Regions from separate parts of the Homo sapiens genome. Here regions 1 and 2 are each linked to region 3. The links are contacts of gene promoters, found by promoter capture Hi-C in human tissues and cell types (Jung and others, 2019). All regions are on one chromosome and are shown on one strand. The core of a region is centred on a gene start or on the middle of the fragment in contact, and the rest is flanking DNA. Distances in the headings are between cores, read along the strand shown.

Region 1 (4,839 bases), core at 1,110-3,609, 350 kb before region 3:
AAAAAAAAAAAAATTTAGCCAGGCATGATGGCACGTGCCTGTAATCCCAGTTATTCCAGAGACTGAGGTGGGAGGTGAGAGTGAGAGGATCACTTGAGCCCAGGAATTGGAAGTTGCAGTGAGCTATGATGGCACCACTGCTCTCCAGCCTGAGCGACACAGTGAGACTCTGTCTCTAAAAAAAATGAAATAACAGTTATTTTCTCTTCAATTGTGCCAGTGATGAAATGATAAGAATGACGGTGTTCAGGACATCCTACCCCAAAAAGCGGCACCTTGGCATACTGAATATTTATTTTTTCTTTCTTTTCTTTCTTTCTTTCTTTTTTTTTTTTCTGAGATAGAGTCTTGCTCTGTTGCGCAGGCTGGAGTGCAATGGCGCAATCTTGGCTCACTGTAACCTCCACCTCCTGGGCTCAAGCGAGTCTTCCTGCCTCAGCCTCCCGAGTAGCTGGGATTACAGGCAAGTGCCACCGTGCCCAGGTAATTTTTGTATTTTAGTAGAGACGGGGTTTCACCACGTTGCCCAGGCTGGTCTTGAACTCCTGACCTCAGGTGATCCACCCGCCTTGGCCTCCCAAAGTGCTGGGATTACAAGCGTGAGCCACCACACCTGGCTGGCATACTGAATATTTTAAGCTGAAGGAACTTGAGTAAACAGCAGAAGCAGGAAGGTCCCCCTGGCCTTTCCCTCCCCTTCTTGCCTGAAGCAGGGCATAAGATCCTCATGTGACAGCTGCCCTTCCTATACCCGGAGGAAAGGGACATCCTTATCTCTGAAGACACAGCATCACAGGGAAGAATCTGAACAGGCTGGCTAGGTTTCCCCCAGTTTATTACTATTAGATCATTCTCTTTTTGCCCGATCCCATTTTTCCACAAGTGTCCACACTTCATCAAATCTGCCATAAAAACACACAGCTTTAGCTGTTTCTGATGGGGTCTGCATTTCCTTTTGAAGACTCCCTTGTCATGTAAAACTTAAATAGATTTATATGTTTTCTCTTGCAAATCTGTGTTTTGTTACAGGGACCTCAGCCACATACTTAGTATGGTAGAGGAAAAAGATATGTTTCTCTCCTACAATGGTTTATCATGAATTATCTTAGTAAGGGGATGTACAAAGGTCTGTGCACATGCAAAGTCATAGATGTGAACTTTCTTTTCTTCCTCTCCTCCTCCTCCCTTTCTCCTAGCTTTCCTCCTATGCCTTCTGTCTCTAACTGCAGAAGACCTTATCAATCACTGTAGCAGCAGCAGCATGGTGCAGAGGAAAGAGTGATTTGGAGTCAGGGCTGCCTCTAGATTTCTGTTGTGCTTTGCCACTCTGTGGTTATGTAAAAACAGAGCAGGTGACACCCTCCCTGAGCCTCAATTATCTTAGGTGTGGGTGGGATCGAGCAGCACCTGTCCTCCCTCCCTGACCCAACCTTTCAGTTCATAGGTGAGAAAACAAGGCCCAGAGAGGCACCTGGCTTGGTCTCATGGCTAAGATCCTGCAGGGCTAAGATGAGATCCTGGCCCTTGCATTTAACCCCTGCAGTCACAGCGACCCAGGAGGTGTTAGACACACTCTTGGGATCCAGGACTGTACTGGCTGCTGGAGGAGAGTGGAGGAGAGGTGTGGGGTGGGGAGGGCACAAGCTCTGGTGTAAGCCACAGAACAAGAAGACACTTTCTCTGCTGTTGAGAAGCAGGTTGGTCCTCTTCACTCCTCCCTCAGGAGTAATTGAACTGCTTGCCAGGTTCATCTTGCCCACTGCCAAGATAGAGCGAATTGATCAAGACAGAGGAATTGCAATAGAGAAAGAATTTAATACACATAGAGCCAGCTGAACAAGAGACCAGAGTCTCTTATTATTACTGAAATCAGCCTCCCCAAAACTTTGGAAGCCAGGGTCTTTTGAAGACACTTTGGTGGGCAGGGTGCCAGGGAATGGGGAACACTGATGGGTTGGTTTGGGGATGAAATCATAAGGAGCTGAAGCTGTCCCCTTGCACTGAGTCAGTTCCCCTGGGTTTGGACCCCAAGACCAGATGAGCCAGTTTACTGGGCTAGTTGGCACCCGCTGATCCATTGGAATTCAGGTTCTGAAGAATACCTCAAACACCAATCTTACCATTACAATAGTAATGGTATCCATAGAAATAATTGGAGAGATTTGTAATCTTGTGACTTCCAGCTGTGATGTGGTTTGGATATTTGTCCCCTCTGAATCTCATGTTGAAATGTGATTCCCAATGTTGGAGGTGGGGCCTGATGGGAGGTGATTGGATCATGGGGGTGGATCACTCATGAATGGGATCCCTTTGGTGATAAGTGAGTTCTCGCTCTGAGTTCACTCAAAATCTGGTTGTTTGAAAGTTCGTGGTGCTACCCCCCCCCGTCTCCCCTGCTCCTGCCATATGATATACCTGCTCCCCTTTTACCTTCCGCCATGATTCTAAGTTTCCTGAGCCCTCACCAGAAGCAGATGCTGGAGCTGTGCTGCTACAGCCTGCAGAACCATGAGCCAATTACACCTCTTTTCTTTATAAATTACCCAGCCTCCAGTATTTCTTTATAGCAATGCAAGAATGGCTTAACACAGGCTGCATGACTTCTGGGCCATAACTTCTAATCTTGTGGCTAATTTGTTGGTTTTACAAAGGTGGTCTGGTTACCAAGTAAGGAGGGGGTTTGTTTGGGGAGGGGCTGTTATCATCTTTGTTGCAAAGTTAAACTAAAAACTAAATTCCTCCCAAAGTTAGTTCTGCCTATGCCCAGGAACAAACAAGGGCAGCTCAGAGATTAGAAGCAAGATAGAGTTGGTTAGGTCAGATTTATTTTACTGTCATGATTTTCCTATGTCAAATTTTCCTCACTGTCATAACTTTTGCAACGGTGGTTTCAGTAGGAAAATAACTTCCTTGGGAGTGCTGAGACCTGTATTCTGAATCAGCATTGCCGGGAGTTTATAAAAAAGACCTGGGGCAAATCACTTTGCTCCACTGGGCCTCAGTTTTTCCCTCGCTGTAAAATAAGGTTGAACAAAATGGACTCTAGGAATCCGTCAAGCCCTAAAACTCTATTATAGTATTATTGAACCTAATTGTAGCACAAGCCTTTGTTTCATTAACTGTAGATTTGAAACCCTCATTTGCTCTAGGAATCCTTTGGTTGCTGTAAGAATATTATGACTTGTTATTTCTACCTTTAGTGATGGTATCTATGCAATAGGGAAGATAATAAAAATTCTTTCTGGAAAAATAAAAAATAAAAAGTAAATGGGTCACTCATATAAGTGAACTCTGAATAAGCTGTAAGTAGACTATTTGAAGCAGAGAGAAGAATCTATTTTCTAGGATACTATAATCCCTTTTAAGTGAATTCTTAGTGTGATTATCAGATGATAAGTTCTTCAGAGTTGTTTTGCAAATAAATGATGAAAGAGGGGAGGGGGTGTAGTGAGAGGGTAAGTTCCACTGGTTGATGAGACACAATCCTCAGATTGGTCTCTCACCCATATTTGCAGGAGAGCTTGTTCAGAAATCTGAGATTACATGATACAGGATGAAACTACATCAGAGTCAACCACCTAGACTAGGCTAACCTTTATAAAAACAGCCTCCATCACATAATGTTTAACATGTAAAGATAAGTGCTAGAATTTTCTTCCCTTGCTCACTGTTCTGGCACTTAGCATAAGAAAAATGTCTTCATAACCCCGCGTACTGTTCACTTGTGTTCAACACATGCTCAGGAAACACTACAGATCACATTGTCTATGCTGCAAGCTTCCATACCTGCCCTGTTTCTGCTCCAACTGCATGCACACTTAGGATTCTGTTCCAGAAGCTCAGTGATACCGTCTAGAGCAGTTCAAACAGGAGAACAACTTTTCTTCTATTTTTAATTTAAAGATTAACATAAGTTTTATTTCTATTTTTAATTAAAGATTTGAGAGTTCAAACGGTTTTTAAAAAGGTTTTGAACTTAGAGGAGAGCAAATCAGGTGTCTGTTATTACTTGCTCTGTGGCCTCAGGAATTTTGCACTATGGGCTGGGGTGGGGCTGGTTTGGATATGCCTCGCAGTTGCATTGGACCTGTTGTCCAAGAGTTTCTGGTTAATACAGAAACGCAGTCCTGAGGTGCACAGAATCACTGGGACAGGTGTGTCAGAGAACATTCAGAATAGAAGAAAGGTTGGCAAACATAGACAAAGGAATCAGAGCCTTAAACACCATCTTTCAAAGTCTAGGAAACTGGGAGCAAAATTTCCACTTTTGTTTGGCATATTCTCAGGGTTTTGGAACTTTTCAGAAGCAATACAGAAAAAAAAATGACAAAACAAAAGAAACAGCATTTTCTTTAAAAGGGAAAAAGGAAAAAACTGTTGGCCACTCATTGTCATATCTAGAGAATGGAGAAAATTAAGAAAACCAAAGGGCTTTTTACTTTTCATTTATATGCATGAGTAAAACCTTAGTTTTATCTTGTTGCTTTTAGTGGAAGAAAGACATTTTCAAATTGTATTCACGGATTGATTTTTTGGAATAGATGTAGCTTCTTTAGATTTCATCAGAAAAGAATTCTTTTCTATTATAACTATTTGAAAACAGTATATTTTTAGCCATTAAACAGAACTTTTGGAGCTGTGACCAAGTAGTTTTTGGAGCAGTCCATGAGTTTGGGTGTTTGTGTGGATGGAGTTCAGAACACACTGCTCCATATACGATACGCTGACATTTGAGGAAACAGCAGAAGCAGGAAGGTCTCTTTCACCTCCTTCTCACCCTTCTCCCCTGAAACAGGTAATAAGACCTTCATCTGAGAAGTTCCCACTCTATACCTGTCT
Region 2 (4,554 bases), core at 1,812-4,311, 450 kb after region 3:
GGGAAGTCTTCCTCTTTGATTAGTTTGGGGCCCAATCCAGCATCCCATAAGTAATGGAGGCCTCCCACCACCTGCACGAGGGAGTCATTGAGCACCAGTAGACCCTTGAAATAGACTTGGCCATCAGCTTGACTGTAACCTCATGGAAGATTCTGGGCCAGAACTGCCCTCCTGGTTATGCAGCCCCCAGAGTCCCCAGTCTCAAAAGCTGGGAGATAAAGAATGTCGTTTTAAGCTGCTGCAGTTTGGAGGTAACTTGTTTTGCAGCAGTAGATAAACAATATAGAACATAATTTCTAATACTTTCATAACTAAAACCCATTGAATGGAAGCCCAGAAAACCCAGTTTTAGACCATGTTCTAATCAATAACTGGTAATGTTATATAATGTATAGAGTAGGAGTTCACCAAAACTCAGACGTAGCTCTTTTTTTTTTTTTTTTTTAAGACAGGGTCTTACTCTGTCACCCAGGCTGCTGGAGTGCAGTGGCACCATCAGGGCTCACTGCAGCCTCAAACTCCTGGGCTCAAGTGATCCTTCTGCCTCAGCCTCTCAGGTAGTTGGGACTACAGAAGTGTGCACGCCACCATGCCTGGCTAACATTTTTATTTTTATTTTTGGTAGAGGTGGGGTTTCGCTATGTTGCCCAGGCTGGTTTCAAACTCCTGGTCTCAAACAATCCTCCCACCTTGGTCGCTCAAAGTGTTGGGATTACAGGCATGAGCCACTGCACCAGCCAGCATCTTATGTTTCTTAATGTGAGATTTCATTTTCCAGAAGTCAGTAAAGATCTAAGCTCTGATGTCAGACTGCCTGGGCTTCAATCTTGAGTCTGCTAGTTACTGAGTGTGCACAGGTGCATGAATCTTTTCTCCAAAACTTATTTTTTCATCTTTAAATGAAGGTAATCGTAGTACTGTTGTAAGAACTGAATGAAGTAATTCAGTAATTTAAAGTGCCTGGTATCTAGTACACATTTAACAATGACAAATTATTATCATCATCATTATTATCAACATCAGGTCAGAGAAGGGACTGACAGCTTTTATTCTTGATATTTTTCTTCTCAGCTTGCAAAAGAGCCCTTCACTCTTTAGAAAATAAAAATACAACCAGTTTGCTTTTTTTTTTTTTTTTTGAGATGGAGTCTTGCTCTGTCGCCCAGGCTGGAATGAAGTGGTGTGAATTCGGCTCACTGCAACCTCCACCTCCTGGGTTCAAGTGATTCTCCTGCCTCAGCCTCCCGAGTAGCTGGAATTACAGAAGTGTGCCCCCATGCTCCACTAATTTTTGTATTTTTAATAGAGATGGGGTTTCACCATGTTGGCCAAGCTGGTCTTGAACTCCTGACCTCAAGAGATCTGCCTGCCTTGGCCTCCCAAAGTGCTGGGATTACAGCTGTGAGCCACTGCACCCGGCTAGTCTCCTATTCTACAGGGAACTATGACTAAGAGTTGTTTCAAATTTTAACTTAATAGTGAGCTCTATTTAGAAAGCATTTTTATTCTTTAAAAGAATATTTTGATTTACACATTTCTCATTTAAGCTATGATGAAGTTTTCATAAATTTGACGTGGGACAAAAATGCAAGTAGTAGGATTACCAACTTGCATGATACTTTTTAGGTACTTTTTAGGAAACCTGAATATTGATAAGACATAAATTGTGTCCATAAATTAATACTTTCTTCCCCAAATACAGCAAAACTATTTATGCAAGTATATTGTTTCCTTCAGAATAATAGCTTTCATTCATTCAACAAATATGTATCTAGCTCCTCCTGTGTTCCAGGGACTCTTTTGGGTGCTAGAGATGTAGTGATAAACATAACACAATCCTTGCTTTTAAGGAACTTACAGTTGGAGCCAGAAGAGTACACAGACAACTTCAGGACAGCTTAAGGAGTACAACCGAGTATGGGATACAATGAGGTACCCAAAAAATAGGGGTGAAAGAAGGTTCCCTGGTGGAGGTGAAGATCATGGGCCTCAGTCGTTAGGCAAGAAAAGTGGACAGAGGAGGTAGGTTACAGTTCTGGGGTTACTGTGTAGATATCTGGAGGCAAAAGAGTGTGAGGCGTATTTATGGAGCCACATGTAATTCAGTATGGTCCCATCTTGTAGGGCAGTGAGGAGTGACCAGAGATGCAGCTAGGGAGAAGAACAGGGTTCAGATAATAAAAAATCGTGTATGCCACACCAAGGGTTTTGGATTTTATTTTATTAGTATTATTTTCGAGATGAAGTCTTGCTGTGCCATCCAGGCTGGAGTGCAGTGGCGTGATCTCAGCTCACTGCAACCTCCACCTCCTGGCTTCAGACGATTCTCCTGTCTCAGCGTCCCGAGTAGCTGGGATTACAGGCATGCCCGGCTAATTTTTGTCGTTTTAGTAGAGATGCGGTTTCACCATGTTGGCGAGGCTGGTCTCAAACTGGCTGGTCTCGAACTCCTGACCTCATGATCCGCCTGCCTCAGCCTCCCAAACTGCTGGGATTACAGGCGTGAGCCACCATGCCCGGCCGGGTTTTGGAATTTATTGTGAATGCGTTGGAGAAGCAAGGACTGATTTTAAGGAGGGAAGTCTCCAACAGGTTACTCCCTTATTCAATAATTCTCCTTTACTCAAAATTGAGATTTTCTCATTTTAAGAGAATGCCTCTTAAATGGCCTTCAGCTCACTCTTTTGAATGGACTCAATGCTAATAAATGCGTTTGAGAATGAACTTGAACTGGGAGTGGAATGGGAAGCAGAAACCTTTTAGAGGAACTGTGTTTAGTAAACAAACTTGATGAAGCAGGTTAATTACTATTTGGGGTAAAAATTTTGCTCTGATTAGAAAGCCATGAGGCTGAATCATTGCGTCTTATTGCATTTCATAAAACAGACATTTCTGTGCTTTTGAATTTGTTAATTGGATGGCCAATCACATTTTTAACTGGCTTGACAACAGCAGAATCCTTCAAATGCTGTAAAGGAATCTCATCTAGTTTTAAAAATATGGCAGCCTGGGAAGCTTCTGGTTGGGGCCAGGACGCTGCAGTCAGAGCAGGGCTGTGTGCAACCACTGCCTGCTGCCCACACATCGCTCCACAGTCTAGTTTGTGGTCCCACTCTAAATCATCTCAGAAATCACTGCTGTCATTTGGGTGTGGGTTTCTCACCTGGCAGTGCTGTCTACCAGTGTTTGGAACATTTCTATATGCATTTATCTTCTTTAAAGTGTTGGTGCAAACATGTCCAGTTAAATTCTGTGATGTGTGGAGTCTTTCTCACTATAGTAATATGGTTTAAGGCCAATACTGACCATCTTTTACACTCATCCTGTTCATAGTTTATGGCAAGCATATGGAGGAAAGTCTGTATTTTTTTGTTTTTGTTTTTTGTTCTTTTTGAGAAAGAAAGTAGAGATTCATGTTTGAGACCAACTTAAAATATTCTACTAACATTATTTTATAGCCATAAAGTGTCTATTCCCCAATTTTTATTTATGATATGTAGCATTAGTGATAGTTTTTCTAATTTGGGAGCTCAGATGTCTTTACTTTTTGTGGTTTTATAATTTTATTTCATGTATTTGACGATCACTGCTTAGTTCTCATCCATATTGACTATAATTTTTTTTTTCTTGAGACAGGATATGGCTCTGTCGCCCAGGCTGGAGTGCAGTGATGCCATCTCGGCTCACTGCAGGCTTGACCTCCCAATCTCAAACAATTCTCTCACTTTAGCCTCCAGAGTAGCTGGGACCACAGGCGTGTGCCACCATGCCCAGCTAATTGTGTGTGTGTGTGTGTGTGTGTGTTTGGTTATTTTTTTTGAGACGGAGTCTTGCTCTGTCACCCAGGCTGGAGTGCAGTGGTGTGATCTTGGCTTGCTGCAACCCCCATCTCCTGGGTTAAAGCGATTCTTCTGCCTCAGCCTCCCGAGTAGCTGGGATTACAGATGTATGCCACCACACCCAACTAATTTTTGTACTTTTAGTAGAGATGGGGTTTCACCATGTTGGCCAGGCCGGTCTAGAACTCCTGACCTCAGGTGATGCACCCGCCTTGGCCTCCCACAGTGCTGGGATTACAGGCGTGAGCCACCACACCTGGGTTTTTTTTTTTTTTTTGAGATGGAGTCTCACTCTGTTGCCCAGGCTGGAGTGCAGTGGCACAATCTCGGTTCACTGCAACCTCCACCTCCCAGGTTCAAGCAACTCTATTGCCTCAGCCTCCCAAGTAGCTGGGATTAAAGGCGTGGGCCACCATGCCCAGCTAATTTTTCTGTATTTTTAGTAGAGATGGGGTTTCACCATGCCCGGCATTTTTTGTGTTTTTTTTGTAGAGGCAAGGTTTCACCATGTTGCCCAGGCTGGTCTCAAACTCTTGAGCTCAAGTGATCCGCCTGCCTCAACCTCCCAAAGTGCTAGGATTATAGGCATGACCACCGTATCCTGCCTGTCTGTAGATTTTTGAAAGTGGTAACAGGTGCATAGGTAACCAAAGTATAGAACTTATTTGGTGAATCTTCATCCTCATCACGTTTTCTGGATAACCACACATGGGTG
Region 3 (4,346 bases), core at 32-2,531:
GTAGTCTCAACTACTGGGGAGTCTGAAGTGGGAGAATCACCTGAGTCTGGGGAAGTAGAGCCTGCAGTGAGCTGTGATTGCACCACTGCACCCCCAGCCTGGTTGACACAGCGAGACCCTATCTCAAGGGAAAAAATAAAAATAAAAAAGAGGTATAGCTCACATTTATTTTAATGTTTAATATTAGAAGTGTTTTGAATTTTTACTTTGAAGTTCGGTGATGTTTTTGTAACCGGAAATAATGCTGTAGGAACTTAACTCTTTTTTTATATGTCAGCCTATGGCAAATTTGGTTTTGTTATATGTTGTTTTGCTTAAGGTGACAGTTTCCAAGAACCTACTCCGTGAGGACTGGTGAGCTGGGTCAGAGTAAATAGCACAGGATGACGACTGCAAGGACGATATGGGGGCAGCAGGGTTTTAGACATACTTGGAATGGCAGCTTCCTGAGGTAGGCCAAGTATTCTCAGCATAATAAGGGCTACATTTAGGTGTATCTGGAGGAAGACGGTGAACAGATTTCCACGGACGGTGAGTGCACTGGAAAACAGGCAGGGATGGCAAGTACCATAGTGATGGATTGGAAGAAGGTGCACTTTGGGGCATGATTCTACTGGTTAAGCCAAGGGCTCTCGATGAGGTCCGAGGTTCCTGCCCCGGGCACGGAGTGGGTTGGCAGTGACAGCCCAGCCTATTACGTGGGAGTCTCCCTCTTGAATGGCTCCAGGAGGCCCATATCGAGGGTCTGAAAGGCCAGACGGTTATCCGCACAAAAGTATTAAGTTCATTTCAGGGACTGACCCGGCAATGTGCCCGGGTCCTTCCCCTCGGTGCTGGGAAGCCCTGGTCTCCCTGCAGCATTTCACACCTGGCTGGGTCTCCTGACTCGTGGCGTGGGTGAGTGCATGAGCCTCCCTCCTTCGCCTGATCGACGCCTGGGGGCTCCTCTCCCCAACCTCCTCACTCTGCCCACTCTGTCCTCTCCCTCCTTGGGGAGCGGCAGGGGACGCCTAGCCGGGGTCCCCAGGCTCCCGCTCGCAACCCACGGCCTCCTCCGCGGGCAGGGAGCGAACGCCCGGAGGTCGCCCGCGCACAGGGGGCGGCCCGGCTGCAGCGGAGCCGGGGCGGGAAGGCGCAGCCTAACGGTCCAGCTGCCGCGCCCCGCGCCCCGCACCCAGTGCCCCGCCCGCGGCGCCGCAGCCGCCTCCCGCCTGCCCGCCCGCCCCCTGCGTCATGACGCCGGCGCCCAACGCGGAAGCCGCTCGCCGCGCGCCGGGTCCAGCCGCGGGCTGAGCGCGGATCCGCGGCGGGCGCAGGATACGGGCCGGGGCGCGAGCCGAGCGCAGTCTGCCGGGCCGAGCGGGCGGAGCGAGCCGAGTGGGGCTGAGCGCGCCGGCGGCGGCGGGCGGAGCGGAGCGCGGCGCGCCGGGGCCGCCGCCGGGGGGATGCGGCTGCCTCCCCGGGCCGGGGTGTAGAGAGGGCGGGTCCCCGGCCTCGGGAGCACGGCGGTGGAGGGGACATAGGAGGCGGCCATGGCGACCCCCGGCAACCTAGGGTCCTCTGTCCTGGCGAGCAAGACCAAGACCAAGAAGAAGCACTTCGTAGCGCAGAAAGTGAAGCTGTTTCGGGCCAGCGACCCGCTGCTCAGCGTCCTCATGTGGGGGGTAAACCACTCGGTAAGGGCTCAGCTGCGGCGCGCGGTCCCCTTCCTCCTCCTCCTCTTCCTCCTCGTTCCCCTCCTCCTCCGGCTGCAGCTGCTGCGGGGCGGGGAGCCGGAGTCAGCCCTGGACCTCCGGCTGCTCGCCCGCCTCGAAGCCCCCAGCCCCGCGGCGCGTGCCCCCAGCCCTCTGGGCCGCCCAGGCACCACCACTTGCGTCCCCTTTAGATCTATGGCCCGGTGCGGGTCGGGGGTCCCGTGTGCATGTGAGTCTCACGGTGGGTGCCAGTGCCGCCCCCGGTCCGCCCGCCCGCCCGCAGGTCGGTCCCCGCAGCCTGGGAGGTAGGAAGTTTGTGCGGGGCACGGCGCCTCGGCTGTCAGCCCCGGCGGGAGCTGCTGGGGGCCGGGTCCGGGCGACCGCTACCCGGTGTGGGGGCCGCGCGGCGCCCGCGTCTTCCGCTTGCGGGCAGGTGTACCTGTCCCGGGCTGGGCGCGTGCGAGCCTCCCACTGGGGCACTGGGGCGAGGATACCGGAGCGCGAGCAGATTTGGGGCAGCAGCTTTAGTGCTTAGGTCCTTTCTTTTTCCTTTAAAGGCAATATTACTGGGCACAAGTCGGCTTTTTGGCAAAGCAGCAGCCGATGTAAATATGGCTCTGGCGTCGGGCGGCATCCCTGCGCTTCTCCCGCATCGCCCTGCCGCTGTGCGGGCTGGAGAGCCCTTGGCGGGGAGTCTTCCTCCCTTCGTCGCCTCCCCCCACTTTGGGGAGTCAGGCAGAAGTCACCGACTGCGGAAGGGCGGCCGGGGCGGGGACAGCAGGCGGGGGTCCCGGCGGGCGCGGGCGGAGGGGGTCCCGAGTTGGCCGCACCCGCTGTGGGGGGTGTGGGAAAGGCTGGAGAACGCGTGGAAAGGTTAGCGTCACGCACAGTCGGGGATTGGAGGATGCGCCGCTGCGGGCTATGCGGACTGCGGTTCGAGGGTCTGAAATAGCCTCCTGCTGATCTGACAGCGAGAAACTCCTGCAGTTTTAATCCACTTCGATAGGATCAGGAAACATGATCGGAGCTGTTGGCTCAGCCAGGAAAGTTTAAACGAGCTGTGAATTTTGACCATGACCTTAGCCACTGCAGTCACTTAGCATCTGGGGAAAAGTGTAAGTTCGCTTTCCCTGCTTTTGATTTCGATGGATGTCTGTATGTCCTTTTCAGCGTAATGGAAATGACAGAAAACCATGCTGGTTTTTCGGAAAACACACACACAGACACACACACACACACACACACACACACCCTCAATGTAGTGAAGTTGTTTAAAATGCCTAAAAGCATCGTTTTTGTATTTTTCTTCCCCAAGCTGAGCAGGGGGAAGGGCAAAACAGTATCAGGATCGATCGTGTTTGCATGGAGTGAGTGTTTTTGGAAAAGTTGAGAAATGATTATTTTTATCCAGCTTAATGACTGACTCACTGAAGTTCATTTTAACTTCCTGGCAACTTCTTTAGCTATTTGGGAATGTAAGTTGTTACAAGAGCATGCATTACTGCACCAAAAACTCCTCTCTCAAGTTTTATTACGGAAAATGAAATGCAATTTTTCCTAAGTAATAAGTTTACAATGTAGAGTTATGTATAATTTTGTTAAGCTCTTTTATTATTTATGTTAGTAGTTTTTGGGTCCCTTATTACTAGAATAGAAACTTACAATTTAAAAAAAGGATGAATACTGTAGTGCTTACTCATATTTATGGTGCTTTTATCTCCTTTGGAGTTCTGGTGTTTTGGTCAGGAGAGTGTTTCTGTCTCGGGGTTTAATTTAGTAAGGTAGTGTCAACAATATGCTGCCGAAAAAGAGTGTGCTTTCTGGGAACTCGTCTGAATTCCAGTTTGCCTTAAAAAATCTTGTAATTGTGTATGTTTTACTGTAACCACTTACGTTGCTACCTTATATTTATGAATTGCTACATTTGTTTTAGAGTTTCTTGCTAATTGGAAATATTTTGAAACTACTTAAGTGTTTCATAGTGTATGACTTGTAAATAGTACATTTGGTGTTATTTTCTTTTGCTCTCAAGAGAAGTTGGCAGTTCTAAGTATCCACAACCAGAGGAGTGAAGTTTCCATTTCATATAAATGTAAGCATGTTACTCATTCAACAGATATATATTGGGCACATACAGTGCCAGCTACTGTGGGAAGAATTGCTAAAACACCTCTAATATTTTTATCCAACTGTCTTTATTTTGAGGGCTCTGAGTTGACATAAGAAAGGTCTGTTTCACAGCCTTTTTTTTCAAAATGTCTATTTTCTTTACTATATTATTTTTGAAAAAAGAATGGAGGTGTAATATAAACATGAAATCTAAAACCCTTAGATGCCATGTATTTCTGGTTTGATTTCATTTTAGGTGACAATGTCTGATATTAGATAAATGTTTTATATGACCTTCTGTGCACCAAAGTTTATAGTATAATGTGAGAATAAATATGTCAGCAGTCTTAAGAACAAACAAGCATGGTGTTGTATACGAGCATCTTCCACATACTGTGGTAAAACGCTCATTGAATCTGCGCTTTAAGTTTTTCTTAAATTCTAACTGTTGACCTTGGGCATGTTAAGGTCAGGTTTTGGCATCAGTGTTTGCATCTGTGAACTGAGGTTGTTTGGATGATTTCCAAGTCTAACTCAAGATTC

Evidence for each region. The method cuts DNA at HindIII sites, captures the fragments that hold promoters and counts their contacts. A contact is called where the count stands out against the background at its distance.
Region 1: a fragment that was not itself captured here is called in contact with the fragment with the promoter of PIP4K2A in region 3 in 1 of the 25 tissues and cell types used here (thymus).
Region 2: a contact is called between a fragment that was not itself captured here and the fragment with the promoter of PIP4K2A in region 3, in 1 of the 25 tissues and cell types used here (spleen).

What each region holds. Positions count from the first base shown.
Region 1 is chr10:23,057,815-23,062,653 of GRCh38, reverse strand. All of the region lies in intron 2 of LOC107984215 (a long non-coding RNA gene), which reads left to right. Among named protein-coding and RNA genes, the nearest start is that of MSRB2, 35 kb to the left of the region's middle. The HindIII fragment of the contact is 7,674 bases long and covers 1-4,839 here.
Region 2 is chr10:22,267,234-22,271,787 of GRCh38, reverse strand. No RefSeq gene overlaps it. Among named protein-coding and RNA genes, the nearest start is that of TRN-GTT2-3, 40 kb to the right of the region's middle. The HindIII fragment of the contact is 5,423 bases long and covers 350-4,554 here.
Region 3 is chr10:22,711,513-22,715,858 of GRCh38, reverse strand. PIP4K2A (phosphatidylinositol-5-phosphate 4-kinase type 2 alpha) reads left to right here and starts at 1,281. Exons shown (of 10, transcript NM_005028.5): 1 at 1,281-1,676. The coding sequence starts at 1,533. RefSeq lists enhancers at 419-1,026, 1,027-1,635 and silencers at 796-1,465, 1,766-1,845, 2,016-2,135, 2,436-2,545. The HindIII fragment of the contact is 14,782 bases long and covers 1-4,346 here.